2 separate regions of the Homo sapiens genome follow, and region 1 is linked to region 2. The links are contacts of gene promoters, found by promoter capture Hi-C in human tissues and cell types (Jung and others, 2019). All regions are on one chromosome and are shown on one strand. Each heading gives the region's core, a stretch centred on a gene start or on the middle of the fragment in contact. The rest is flanking DNA. Distances are from core to core; before and after follow the strand shown.

Evidence for each region. Contacts are between HindIII fragments. The study calls those that stand out against the background at their distance.
Region 1: a fragment that was not itself captured here is called in contact with the fragment with the promoter of MCM10 in region 2 in 1 of the 25 tissues and cell types used here (liver).

The regions. Positions count from the first base shown.
Region 1 is chr10:13,321,264-13,328,101 of GRCh38, reverse strand. SEPHS1 (selenophosphate synthetase 1) reads left to right here. Exons shown (of 9, transcript NM_012247.5): 8 at 5,055-5,267. Among named protein-coding and RNA genes, the nearest start is that of SEPHS1, 24 kb to the left of the region's middle. The HindIII fragment of the contact is 3,843 bases long and covers 1,358-5,200 here.
Region 2 is chr10:13,157,967-13,164,824 of GRCh38, reverse strand. MCM10 (minichromosome maintenance 10 replication initiation factor) reads right to left here and starts at 3,267. Exons shown (of 20, transcript NM_018518.5): 1 at 3,219-3,267; 2 at 616-697. The coding sequence starts at 622. It also overlaps the pseudogene BTBD7P1 and the pseudogene RPL36AP36. RefSeq lists silencers at 3,003-3,182, 3,205-3,518. The HindIII fragment of the contact is 5,218 bases long and covers 2,334-6,858 here.

The DNA.
Region 1 (6,838 bases), core at 2,030-4,529, 160 kb before region 2:
GTGTGGGTTACCTATGTAAGATTTGGAAGCAAACCATTCAGAATGGAAATTTAGAAAGTTTAAGATACTGGAGCTATTTCCAGAACATAACCTTGGAAGTCTAGAAGTGCCCCCACTCCCACCCATCCCCTGCATTCCTGCTTAGGTGTAACCACTGAATTTTGTGTTTATTTTCTTGCATTTTAGAATATTTTTATTGCACAGCCCTTGTGTTCTTAAGCAGCAAATTAGTTTTGCATTTTTTTTACTTGTTTTGTTCACCATTGTTCCTGAGAGTCTCCTTGTTATATGTAGCTGTAGTAGATTCCTTTTGGCTGTGTTGATTTTTCCACTGGCTTCTCTGCTCTCCTGTTTCACACTGGGGCGACTGCTATGGACTTCCTTGGCCCAGCCCTCTGAGGCACGTGTAAGAGATCAGTACTGGCTCAGCTTTTATAGATAGTGCCAAACTGTCTTCCAAAGTGTTCACCACAGTTTACAATGGCACACTATGTTTAGAAAGCGTTTTTTAATATGTCTTCTCTTCCCATTTATTTTATACATTTTTTCTACTATAAAAGAATTACATGCTTATTATAGAAAAGTTTTTAGAAAATGGAAAATAGTACAGAAAAAAGTTGTCCATAGTCCCTCCACCCAAAACAGCTCCGGCTAGCATTTTTATGTATTCTTCCAGGACTTTTTTTCATGTTTGGCTGGTGATTTACTATTGTTGTTTTAAAGTAGTGGTTAGTATAAGTTTTCACTATGTAATGGTTAGTATATGTATTTGGAGTGCCTGCTTTTGTTGTTTTGACATGACTAATGTTTCCCATATTATGTATCCTAGTAAACTTTTTTTTTTTTTTTTTTTTTTTTTTTGAGACAGAATCTAACTCTGTCGCCCAGGCTGGAGTCCATTGGTGTGATCTCGGCTCACTGCAACCGCTACCTACCAGGTTCAAGCAGTTCTGTTGCCTCAGCCTTCCCAGTAGCTGGGACTACAGGCACGCATCATCACCATGCCCGGCGGATTTTTGTATTTTTGGTAGAGACAGGGTTTCACTATGTTGGCCAGGCTGGTCTCGAACTCCTGACCTCAGGTGATCTACCCTCCTTGGCCTCCCAAGGTGCTAGGATTATAGGCGTGAGCCATAGTACACATAATTTTTAATGACTAGATAATGTTCTACCAGAGAAATGTACCACAATTATCTTTTACCTATTGTTTTACAATTCATTTGGAAATAAAAATTTTCTGTAATTTGTTGTTACTTGTAAGAAAGTTATAGCCAGGCACAGTGGCTCACACCTATAATCCAGCACTTTGGGAGGTTGAGGCAGGAGGATCACTTGAGTCCAGCAGTTGGAGACCAGCCTAGGCAACATAGTGAGACCCCATCTCGTCTCTTTAGCTGCGCCTGGTGCATTCCTGTAGTCTAAGCTACTCGAGAGGCTGAGGTGGGAGGATTACTTGAGCCCAGGATGTTGAGACTGCAGTGAGTGGTGATCATACCCCTACGCTTCAGCCTGGGTGACAGGGTGAGATCATGTCTCAAAAAAAAAAAAAAAGTTATAGATCAGAGGAACAGAATAGAGAATCCAGAGGTAGGTCCATATTATAGTCAACTGATTTTTTTTTTTTTTTTGAGATGGAGTTTTGCTCTTTCGCCCAGGCTGAAGTGCAGTGGCAGGATCTTGGCTCACCGCAACCTCCGCCTTCCGACTTCAAGTGATTCTTCTGCCACAGCCTCCCAAGTAGCTGGGATTATAGGCGCCCGCCACCACGCCTGGCTAATTTTTGTATTTTTAGTAGAGATGGGTTTTCACCATGTTGGCCAGGCTAGTCTTGAACCCCTGACCTTGTGATCCGCCTGTCTCGGCCTCCCAAAGTACTGGGATTACAGGCGTGAGCCACTGCACCTGGCCTAGTCAACTGATTTTTGACAAAGGAGTAAAGGCAATTCATTGGAGAAAAGAGTCTTTTCACCAAATGGTGCTGGAACAAGTGGACATTCACATGAAGAAAATTATTCTGGATGCAGATCTTATACCTTTCGTGAAGATTAACTCAAAATGAATGTTTAGTGTGTTTTCACACTGCTATAAATAGCCAAGACTGGATAATTTATTTATTCATTTATTATTATTATTATTATTTTTTTTTTTTTTTTTTGAGACTGAGTCTCTTTTTTTTTTTTTTTTTTTTTTTTTTTTTTTTTTTTTTGAGACGGAGTCTCGCTGTCGCCCAGGCTGGAGTGCAGTGGGGTGATCTCGGCTCACTGCAACCTGTGCCTCTCAGGTTCAAGCGATTCTCCTGCCTCAGCCTCTGGAGTAGCTGGGATTACAGGGCGCACGCCACCACACCCCACTAATTTTGGTATTTTTAGTAGAGACGGGGTTTCACCATGTTGGTCAGGCTGGTCTTGAACTCCTGACCTTGGCCTCCCAAAGTGCTGGAATTGCAGGCGTGAGCCACCATGCCCAGCTGACTGGGTAATTTATAAAGGAAAGAGGTTTAATTTACTCACAGTTTCACATGGCTGGGGAGACCTCAGGAAACTTACAGTCGTGGCAGATGGTGAAGGGGAAACAGGCACCTAGGTTCTTCATGAGGCAGCAGGACAGAGAAGAGCAGGGGAAACTGCCACTTACAAAACCATCAGATCTCATGAGAATTCATTCACCCTGACGAGAACAGCACGAGGGAAACCGCCCTCATGATTCAGTCACCTCCCACCAGGTCCCTCTCTTGACATGTGGGGATTACAATTCGAGATGAGATTTAGGTGGGGACACAGAGCCAGACCATATTGATGATTCGTAGACCTAAATAAAACACAACAATATAAAACTGGAAGAAGGTAACATCAGAGAAAATTGAGGTGGCTTTGGGTTTGGTGATGACTTTATAACACCAAAAGCACTATCTATTAAAAAATTGCTAAGTTTGGCTTTATTAATATAAAAAACTTCTGCTCGGTGAAAAACACTGTTAAGGAAATGAAAAGACAAGCCACAGACTGGGAGAAAAATTTTGCCAAACACATACCTGTTCAAGGTCAGGTATCCAAAATATACAAAGGACTCTTAAAACTCAATAATAAAAAACAACTCAATTTAAACATGGCCCAAAGACCTTGACAGACACCATGAAAGAAGATAACGCAGATGGCAAATAAGCATAAAAGGAAACCTTCAGTGTGGTACGTCAATAGGGAACTGTAGATTAAAGCAGTGATTGAGATGCCACCACATACCTGTTAGAATGGCTAAAATCCAAAACACTGAGAATAGCCTGGGCAACATGGTGAAACCCCATCTCTACCAAAAAAATACAAAAAATTAGCTGGGCATGGTGGCTTGCGCCTTAGTCCCAGCTACTTGGGAAGCTGAGGTTGGGAGGATCCCTTGAGCCCAGGAGGTCGAGGCTGCAGTAAGCTGTGATCGCACCACCTCACTCCAGCCTGGGTGACAAAGCGAGACCCTGTCTCAAAAAAAACCCAAAAACACTGATAATACCAACTGCTGGCAAGGATGTAGAGAAACAGGAAGGAACTCTCATTTATTACTGGTAGGACTGAAAACTGGCACAGCCACTTTAAAAGTCAGTTTGGCAGTTTCTTATGAAACTAAATATGTTATTATATGATGCAGCGATTGTGCTCCTTGATATTCACTCAAAAAAGTTGAAAACTTACATTCACACAAAAGCCTGCAGACAAATGTTCATAGCAGCATTATTCATAATTGCCAGAACTTGGAAGCAGCCATTCATTTCTTCAGTAGGTGAGTGGATGAATGGATAAACAAAATGTAGTGTATCTGTATGATGGAATATAATTGAGCAGTAAAAAGAAATGAGCTATCAAGCCATGAAAAGATGTGGAGGAATCTTAAGTGCATATTACTAAGTGAAAGAAGCCAGTCTGAAAAAGCTCCATACAGAAGGATTCCAACTGCATGACATTCTGCAAAACTGTAGAGATGCAGAAAGGATCAGTGGTGGCCAGAGGTTATCGGAGAGGAAGGGGATCAGGTAGAGCAGAGCACTGAGGATTTGTTACTTCCCACTTAATTTCTTTCTAAACGCAAAACTGCTCCAAAAAATAAAGTCTGTAAATTTTTTTAAAATTAAATAATAGGTCGGGTGAATGGATAATTAAATAATAGTAGGTGAGTGGATGAATGGATAAACAAAATGTAGTGTATCTGTAGTATGGAATATTATTGAGCAGTGGCTCACACTTGTGATCCCAGCGCTTTGGGAGGCTGAGGCAGGACGATTGCCTGAGCCCAAGTGCAGTGAGTTATGATCATGCCACTGCACTCCAGCCTGGTCAATAGAGCAAGACTCTGTCTCTTAAAAAAAAAAAAAAGAAAGAAATTTAAAAATAAACTTGCACGCAATTCACCTTTCGCGGGAGTACCTTGATACTGAGCAAGGCCTTCTTAAAAAGTGCTGGTCTTGGCCGGGTGTGGTGGCTCACATCTGTAATCCCAGCACTTTGGGAGGCCAGGGCGGGCGGATCATGAGGTCAGGAGTTCAAGATCAGCCTGGCCAATATGGTGAAACCCTGTCTCTGCTAAAAATACAGAAATTAGCTGGGCGTGGTGGTGCGCACCTGTAGTCCCAGCTATTCAGGAGGCTGAGGCAGGAGAATCACTTGAGCCCTGGAGGCAGAGGTTGCAGTGAGCCGAGATCGTACGACTGCACCCCAGCCTGGATGACAGAGCGAGACTCCATCTCAAAAAAGGAAAAAAGTGCCGGTCTTTGGTTTTAGGATGGTCTTGGCCGGTTTACCTTCCACTGAGATCATAATCCCTCTGCATAGTTTTTTTAGTTTACTGGAAAACTACTATTAATTGAAGCTTCTGATAGTTTTCAGGTGGCTCAAAGTGAAATAAGAACTTTTGGAATTTCACTATGTCTTTGGTTGATTTTACATTGCGTTTTCATTATTCCGATACGTCATCTCCCTGACAAGTAAGGAAGTTGCAGATTAATTGTGGACGTAAGATTTTTGAGTTGAGGAAAGGTGTTTTTTCTCAGAGCCGCCCCCTCTCTCTCCCAGCTGCAGGACTCATGCACACGTTCAATGCCCACGCCGCCACTGACATCACGGGCTTCGGGATTTTGGGCCATGCGCAGAACCTGGCCAAGCAGCAGAGGAACGAGGTGTCGTTTGTAATTCACAACCTCCCGGTGCTGGCCAAGATGGCTGCGGTGAGCAAGGCCTGCGGAAACATGTTCGGCCTCATGCACGGGACCTGCCCGGAGACTTCAGGTACAGGATGCTGGGCGCATCTGAGGACTAAATAGTGAGGCTAACAGAAAGCTCAGCGAGAAAGCAGCAGCCCCACCCCGAGTGGGCCCCCACTCTGTTCGAGTTCCATGCTGCTGACCTCGGCCTCCGCAGCAGCTGGTGCCTTTCCTCCTCCCGGTGGGTCTGGTCCCCGCCATCCTGGGTGGATCCAGCAGCCTTGCTGAGGTTGAGTGGCCTGTGCTCTTTTTGATGCAAGGATATGGTGATGGGGGAAATAAGGTAGCATTCAGTTTTTACTGAAAGCTTCGCATTTGAAATTAACTGTAATACCCCTAGGTTACTTTGAACAGGTGATATTTTTTTCCTTGAAAATTGTCTAACGTTGTTTTAAGAATGATAGAGAGAAAAGGGGCCAGGTGTGGTGGCTCTTGCCTGTAATACTGGCACCTCAGGAGGCTGAGGCAGGCACATCACGTGAGATCAGGAGTTGAAGACCAGCCTGGCCAACATGGTGAAACCCCATCTTCACTAAAAATACAAAAAAAAAGTAGCTGGGCGTGGTGGTCCATGCCTTTAATCCCAGCTGCTTGGGAGGCTGAGCCAGGAGAATCACTTGAACCTGGGAGACAGAGGTTGCAGTGAGCCGAGATTGCGCCACTGCACTCCAGCCTGGGTGACAGAGCGAGATTCTGCCTTAAAAAAAAAAAAAAAAGAAAAGAGAATGATACAGAATAAAAAAGAATGCAATAGGATATTATGTCTTTAAAATGCCATTTTTCTTTTTTCTTAGATGTGCAGTAATTTATTAGAGGAAACATAAATGGAGGATAAACGGGAGATGGAGCAAGCGTAGGTAGAGAGAGCCATCAGACAGCAGTGCAGGTCTGACACCATACGCCCCAGTAGTTTGACTCCTAGGGAGCTTTTATATCCCTTATCATTTTTCTAAGATTAAGCTCCTTTTGTTTCCTGATTAATTTGGTGGCCACATCTGTCCGGAACTTGTGGGACGTCCTCCTCTTCATCATGGCAGGTACTCCAGCATGGCCTGCCGGCCGCCGAGGCCGCCACCCACAGCCTACAGGCTCGCCATCGCTCATTCCCACTCCCGCAGCCCCAGCTGGAGCCAGATGGCGCGTCCTCCTGAAGTACCATTTCTCTTTTGCCCCCTTTGTTCCCTTTACCTTTACTGTTTTCATCTTTTAAGTCTCCCTGTTTTTCCCTTTTTTTCGGTTTCTCTCTTTTTCTATTTCCTTTCCTCTAGAACTCTAGTTTTCTACCCGCAAAAGAGTGGAATCACCTTAGGATTTTAAATATACACATGCCGGCCAGGCCTGGTGGCTCACGCCTGTAATTCCAGCACTTTGGGAGGTCGAGGTCAGGAGTTCGAGACCAGCCTGACCAACATGGTGAAACCCTGTCTCTACTAAAAATACAAAAATTAGCGGGGCGTCGTGGCGTGTGCCCTGTAATCCCAGCTACTCCAGAGGCTGAGGCAGGAGAATCGCTTGAACCCAGGAGGCACAGGTTGCAGTGAGCCAAGATCGCCCCACTGCACTACAGCCTGGGCGACAGAGTGAGACTCTGTCTCA
Region 2 (6,858 bases), core at 2,018-4,517:
GGCCTCCCAAAGTGTTGAGATCACAGGCGTGAGCCACTGCGTCCAGCCCAGCACAATCATTTTAGGTGATCGCTAATTAGTGCAACATCTCTTTTCTAGGTAAACATTTTGTACACATCCTTGCAAAATGAACAAAATTAGAAAGGATGATATTAATAAAAACTTAAGTCAGAGCTAGACTAATATCGCTTCAGCAGATTTCATTATCAAATGTAAACTCTGAAGTCAGACTGCCTGGTTCAAAGCCCTGCTATGCCAGCTTGAACTGTGACAAGTTACTAAACATCCCTGTTTTTCTGCCTATAAAATACGTTTGCCTGAGGACTGAATCAGTTAATTTCCACAAGGATCTTGGAGCAGTGCCTGGCCCACTGTACACCTACCAGCTATTGTAATTATGAAAGACAATCTCTGTTGCCAGAAGAAATCTCCCCTGATAAAAGCAAGTAACATTCAGTGACCTCTGTGAGATGTGAGATTGCTTCAGAACCACTAAGACAATACCTGAGGGCTGGGGAGCATTTTCACCATTTTACAGGTAGAATAAATAACAAGTCCATGGACAAAAGGTTAGTTTTCCTTGAAACAGAGTAACAGAAAACTGCCAGGTCTTACCATCCATGCTGTCAAGAGGACAGTTGTGACAGGAAACTTCGAAGGAGGCTCAGATGCCCAGATGAGCAATGTAGAATCTTGGCTGTGTGAAAGCAATATTAGAAATGTCACTTTCAATTCTTCTCTTTCTCTCACAACACACATCCAACAAACCCAGAATCCTACCACTCCTATGGGCTCTAACCTCAGAATTCATCCAGAATCTGACCATTTCTCACCTCCTCTCTCCACACCGCCAATGCCATCTCCTTCCTTGGATGTAGCAGCTCACTTTTACTTGTGTTTAAGGTTACAGAAAGTTATTGAGCTGCAGAGCAGTTTGTAAATCACACTAGATTACGTGGATGAGATAAATTATGAGGAAGAACTATTGGGGTTGGCTAGGTACAGTGGCTCAACGCCTGTAATACCAGCACTTTGGGAAGCTAAGGTGGGCGCATCACTTGAGGCCAGAAGTTTGAGACCAGCCTGGTCACATAGCAAGACCTTGTCTTTTTTAAAAATTACACACACACACACACAAATTATTGGGGTCGATCTACATTAGGCTATTCTTTCATTTTATTCACTGTAATACACCTGACATCTGCGTTATCCACGACAGCTTACTGTATGATTCTACTTAGGTGGAGCCTTAGTGACAATCAGGATTTTGATTCAATACTAGTCAGCAAAGCACAGAGAAACAGCGTAGCTAATTAAGACAAAGTTGTATCACTTTGTGCACTTCTCTTTTCATTTAAGGTTATTTTTTAAACTGCAAGTAAGAAAGTATACATTTTTCTAGGCTCTTATTTAACTTACATGTGCTCTTTGGCAAGTTCAATGTCAAGGAACTAATTACAGTGATTATGGTACTTTCTTTTCTTTTTTTAGACAGGATCTCGCTCTGTCGCTGGGGCTGGAGTGCAGTGGTGCTATTGGCTCACTACAACCTCCGCCTCCCAGGCTCCAGTGATTCTCCTGCCCCAGCCTCCCAAGTAGCTGGGATTACAAACGTGCACTACCACACCCGGCTAATTTTTGTGTTTTTTGTAGAGACAGGGTTTCGCCATGTTGCCCAGGCTGGTCTTGAACTCCTGATGTCAAGTGATCCATCAGCCTTGGACTCCCAAAGGTGCTTTTTTTTTTTTTTGAGACGGAGTCTCTGTCACCCAGGCTGGAGTGCAATGGGGCGATCTTGGCTCACTGCAAGCTCCGCCTCCCGGGTTCACGCCATTCTCCTGCCTCAGCCTCCCGAGTAGCTGGGACTACAGGCGCCCGCCACCACGCCCGGCTAATTTTTTGTATTTTTAGTAGAGATGGGGTTTCACCGTATTAGCCAGGATGGTCTCGATCTCCTGACCTGGTGATCCGTCCGCCTTGGCCTCCCAAAGCGCTGGGATTACAGGCGTGAGCCACCGCGCCTGGCCGCTTTTTAAAAATTCATTCAACCAACATTTCCACGGATCCCTCATGTGCCACACACTGTGCTATCTACTGGGGAACCTATTGGACAGTAAGCTTCCTGAGCGTTAGGAGCAAACTGTCTCGTTCAAGTCTGTAACCGGCCTTGCCTTCCCCCAAAATGAAACTGTGCACCCTCCCTCGCCCTCAAATCCACGGCCACTGACAAGTACTGTGGTCCCATCTCCAAAACACTGCTCAAATCTGCCACTTCTCTCCAACTTCACTGCCAGAACCCTAGGCCAAGCCACCGTCAACCTTTAACCCAATGACTGTGTTAGCTTTCTATGTTGGTCTCTTTGTCCCCGTGCAATCTGTTCTGCATACGACAGCCACGGTAATCTTCCCTTTCCTTAGTAACCTTTAGGAACATAAATCAGATCATGGGGGTCCCTTCATTGAAATTCTTTAATGATTTTCCATTGCCCTTAGAAAAAATCTACAAAGCCTGCGAGGCAATGATTCATATTCTCTCTCTCTTTCCAAGCTTTCTACTCCCTCACATTTTCCACAATCCACCACGTCCAATTCTACCCACCCCGACACCCATAACGATGCTCCAGCCGGGCCAGCCCGCTTCCACCTTCTGGAACACACTAAGCTGCTTTGAGGTCTCAGGCTCTGTCGAAGAAAGCTCCCCCCAGGTCCTTCTCGCCCTTCGGTCTCCACTTACTCATCTTTCTGAGACTTTCTGGACCACCCTGAGTCGTCCACTGTCGTGCATTTGTTTACTACCTGCTCGTGCCTTTAAACTGTAAGCGCTGTGAAGGCAGCGGAAATGTGATCCGAGCCATGCACACCGTCCGCATTCAATAATCATTGGCAAATCATGAATACGAGAAACCAATGAATGAATGAATGAATGAATGAATAAAAGAAAGCCCAGGCGGCAGGCACTTGGCAAGCACTTAAAAGGCTGCGTTTAAAAGGAAGAACCCGATTCCTTAGTAGACGGCCAGCAACTCCCAGCCCCCGGCCCGGCCATGCCAGCTCCGAGCGGTCCCAAGCTGCCGCCAAATCCAGATCGCGCCCACCCGAGCTCCCGGGACCCCGCGCCTCTAGCCTCGGACCCCTTGCAACCCGCGCAGAGACGTGCGAGGCGGCCCCGGCCCCGCCGCCCGAGGGTCACACGCACGCCCGGGGCCCGCGCTCCTCACCCGATGCCGGGACGCCTTCTTCGTTCACAGCTGAACCCGCCAAAATTCCAACCGGATCCCGCCCCTGCCTTGACGTCAGACGCACGCGGCTGTGGGGCAGCACTGACTGGCTACGCCAGCGAATCCCGGCCCTGGCACAGAGCAATCGGATTGGTTTACGTCATTGGACGCCCTCTTTGTTGGGGGCAAGGGACCTTCCTGTCGGTAGAAGCCAGTCTCCTTTAGGTAAAATAGAGTGTCTGGCGCCCCCTGGTGCCGGGAAGTTTAAGTCATCCCACCCAGTATTTTCCCTGCGGTCCCATCCCACCTCAACTCCTGACGCTCTGGGACCGACTGTTCCTTTGTCAGCCTTATGTCCATTCGAAATGTTTGGGCTCAGGACCAAACAGATCCGGTCCACTTTTACCCTGTCTGACCTTGGGGAAGTGACTTATCTCTCTGAGTTTCCCCTTCACCATCTGTGCAGTGAGGGAAAGGGTAGATGACATCTTTTACACTGAAACCACCATTTCCCGAGTAATTCCTGTTCCATAGATTTTGGGACTTCTAAGGGGCGTCAGGGCTGAAGAGAACTTATCAGCAGACCATATCTTTCACAGATTTTTTTTTCAGTAAAATTCAGGCCTCTTTATGTATTTACATTCTAAAAAATAGTGTTTGTACATAATACTAAGAACATAGTTTCTAAATGCAGAATAACATTTAGCTTTTACATAATTTCAAGGGATTGATAGCAGAAGAGACTTTGATGGACCAAATGGCCACTTTAAGTCTTTCCCCCCTTTTCCTCCTTGCAGACACTGTTCAGGCACTGCAGTTCCCCCACTAATAATCCCTTTGGTATAAGATCCTATCTCTATCCACTACGTACTTTCATTTTCAGAACAATTAAAATCGACTTTAGGAAGACTGAAGATAAACAGTCCTGATGCCATCTACGTTGACTTTTTTCTGTGTCCTAATGGAATATTACTGCTCCATTTATGAGCTCAGCCCTATTACTTAAACCTATATTGGCTCAGGAATAGGAATACAACCATTTCTGAGAGCTGCTAGTGTTAAAAATTCATAGTAATGGAGGAACTCTAGTAATCAAATTGAAAAAGTATGTTTAAATGCGTACTTTTAAACATACGGCACTAAGGCCGGGCACGGTGGCTCACCCCTGTAATCCCAGCACTTTGGGAGGCCGAGGTGGGTGGATCACGAGGTTAGGAGTTCGAGACCAGCCTGGCCAACATGGTGAAACCCCATCTCTACTAAAAACACACACAACACAAAAATTAGCTGGGCGTAGTGGTGCGCGTCTGTAATCCCAGCTACTTGGGAGGCTGAGGCGGAGAATCGCTTGAACCTGGGAGGTGGCGATTGCAGTGATGAGCCGAGATCTCGCCACTGCACTCCAGCCTGGCGACAGAGCCAGACTCTGTCTAAATAAATAAATAAATAAATAAATAAATAAATAAATAAATGCATCACTACATCTAGTTATTAAAAAAAAAAGATTCGTCATAGATTTATTCTTAGCCATTATGCAGAAATTCCTTGACTAATTCTGATCAGTACTCTGAAGTTCTTTTCTTCACCTTCACTTTCCAGGTCCTCTTTGCATCCAGTTCCGGGCAAGGAGTCAGAAACAGAACCAACCTAAGCCCGCAAACCTTCCTTAAGTGAAGAATCAAGCACTTTTTATTGGAATTAGTATAGTGGTGACTTTGAGAAAAGAAGTGGAGGTGATTTTGAGAAACAATTAGGCAAATAGATTTTTTAAAATCCATTGAATGTGGCTTTTCCGTGCCGATAGCGCTCACACAAACATTACGAAGTTTCCTAAAACCCGCCAGACTTTCTATAAGAAGTGTGGCAAGCACCAACCCCACAAAGTGACACTGTACACGAAGGAGAAGGATTCTCTGTATGCCCAGGGAAAGCGGCGTTATGACAGGAAGCAGAGTGGCTATCGTGGGCAAATTAAGCCGATTTTCCAGGAAAGGGCTAAAACTACAGAAAATTGTGCCAAGGCTTGAGTGCGTTGAGCCCAGCTGCAGCTCTAAGAGAGTGCTGGCTATTAAAATATGCTAGCATTTTGAACTGGGAGGAGGTAAGAAGAGAAACGGCCAAGTGATCCAGTTCTAAGTGTCATGTTTTCTTTTATTATGAAGACAATAAAATCTTGAGTTTATATTTTTAAAACATCCATTGAATGTGGAGATATTAGCGAGAAGGAAGCAGAGAGGGGATGGGGAGACAGGTTTAGGATGACTGTTAGGTTTCTGATTTATACAATAGGGTCGTTTTTGAGGTTGTGCACTGAAGTAGGAGACATAGGAAGAACGGAACAGGTTTAGGGGAGAAGATAGATTTAGTTTTCTATTTCAGAATGAGATGTATGAGAGATGCTGATTAAGAAAGGCACGGTAGCCAGCTTGATCTCCAGATCTGGGGTTCTAAGGAGAGGCCTGGACTCTCCTTAGAATACAAACGAAGGCCAAAAAAGAACAGCTCTGACAGTTATCAACATCTATCTAAAATGAAATCTAAAGCAAACAGCCCATATTGCAGTGGTCCTTAACCTTTTTTGGGCGGTAGGAGGATGTTTATCACAGACCCCTTTAATGTATTAAAAGTGGGCCGGGCACGGTGGCTCATGTCTGTAATCCCAGGACTTTGGGAGGCCGAAGCTGGCAGATCACCTGAGGTCAGGAGTTCGAGACCAGTCTGGCCAACATGGTGAAACCTCATCTCTACTAAAAAAAATGCAAAAATGAACCGGAAGTATTGGCGCATGCTTGTAATCCCAGCTACGCGGGAGGCTGAGGCAGTAGAATCGCTTGAACCCGGAAGACGGAGGTTGCAGTGGGCCGAGATCGGCCACTGCACTCCAGCCTAGGCAACAAGAGCAAAACTCCGCCTCAAAAAAACAAAAAACAAAAAAAAACACAAAAAGTCCAAGCCGAGCCCTTCCTGCTCCCTCTAGGAATCAAAATGGCGGCGAGGGAAAACTGGAGCAGTCCCGGAGCCTGAGCCACTGACAGGAGAGGAGAGGGCGGCGGCGGCGGTGGGAGGAGGATGGCGGCGGTGTGCTGGCGCCGGTGCCTGCCGCGGTGCTGGTGGCGGAGGCGGCGGGGGCGACGGCCGAGGTCCCTGCGGCAGCAGCAGCAGCGGCGGCGGGAGGAGCCTCCAGGTCGATTGAACTGTGGATGAGGAACCTACGGAATACGAAGGGCAGACTGTATAGTAAACACTTGAGGATGCTTGCTGTGTGGTTCTTACAGAATGCACTGTCCGTGTGTCTGGCTGCCCACAGCCTTTCATACTTCAATAGTATGCACTAAAGTAAGGTCTAATGGCCCTGTTCTCATAGAAATAGATGGAAAGAGGCTGCTGGATCCAGGGTTGAAGGTTCCTAATGGCCTCTAGGATTATACTCTGAAGAACCCGCAGACGGAATGCCTGAATGACTGAAGAAAATGGGTGCTAATGCATCTCATTATCCTCATCCATGTTCCGCGAAGGTAGGGGGAAATTCACAGGCCCAACAGACTTTTATAGGGACGTCATCCTATTCTCAGCAAGGCTATGGTTGTGAATCAAAATTGTATAGCCTTGACCATGGCCATGAGAAACCACAAGACAAAAA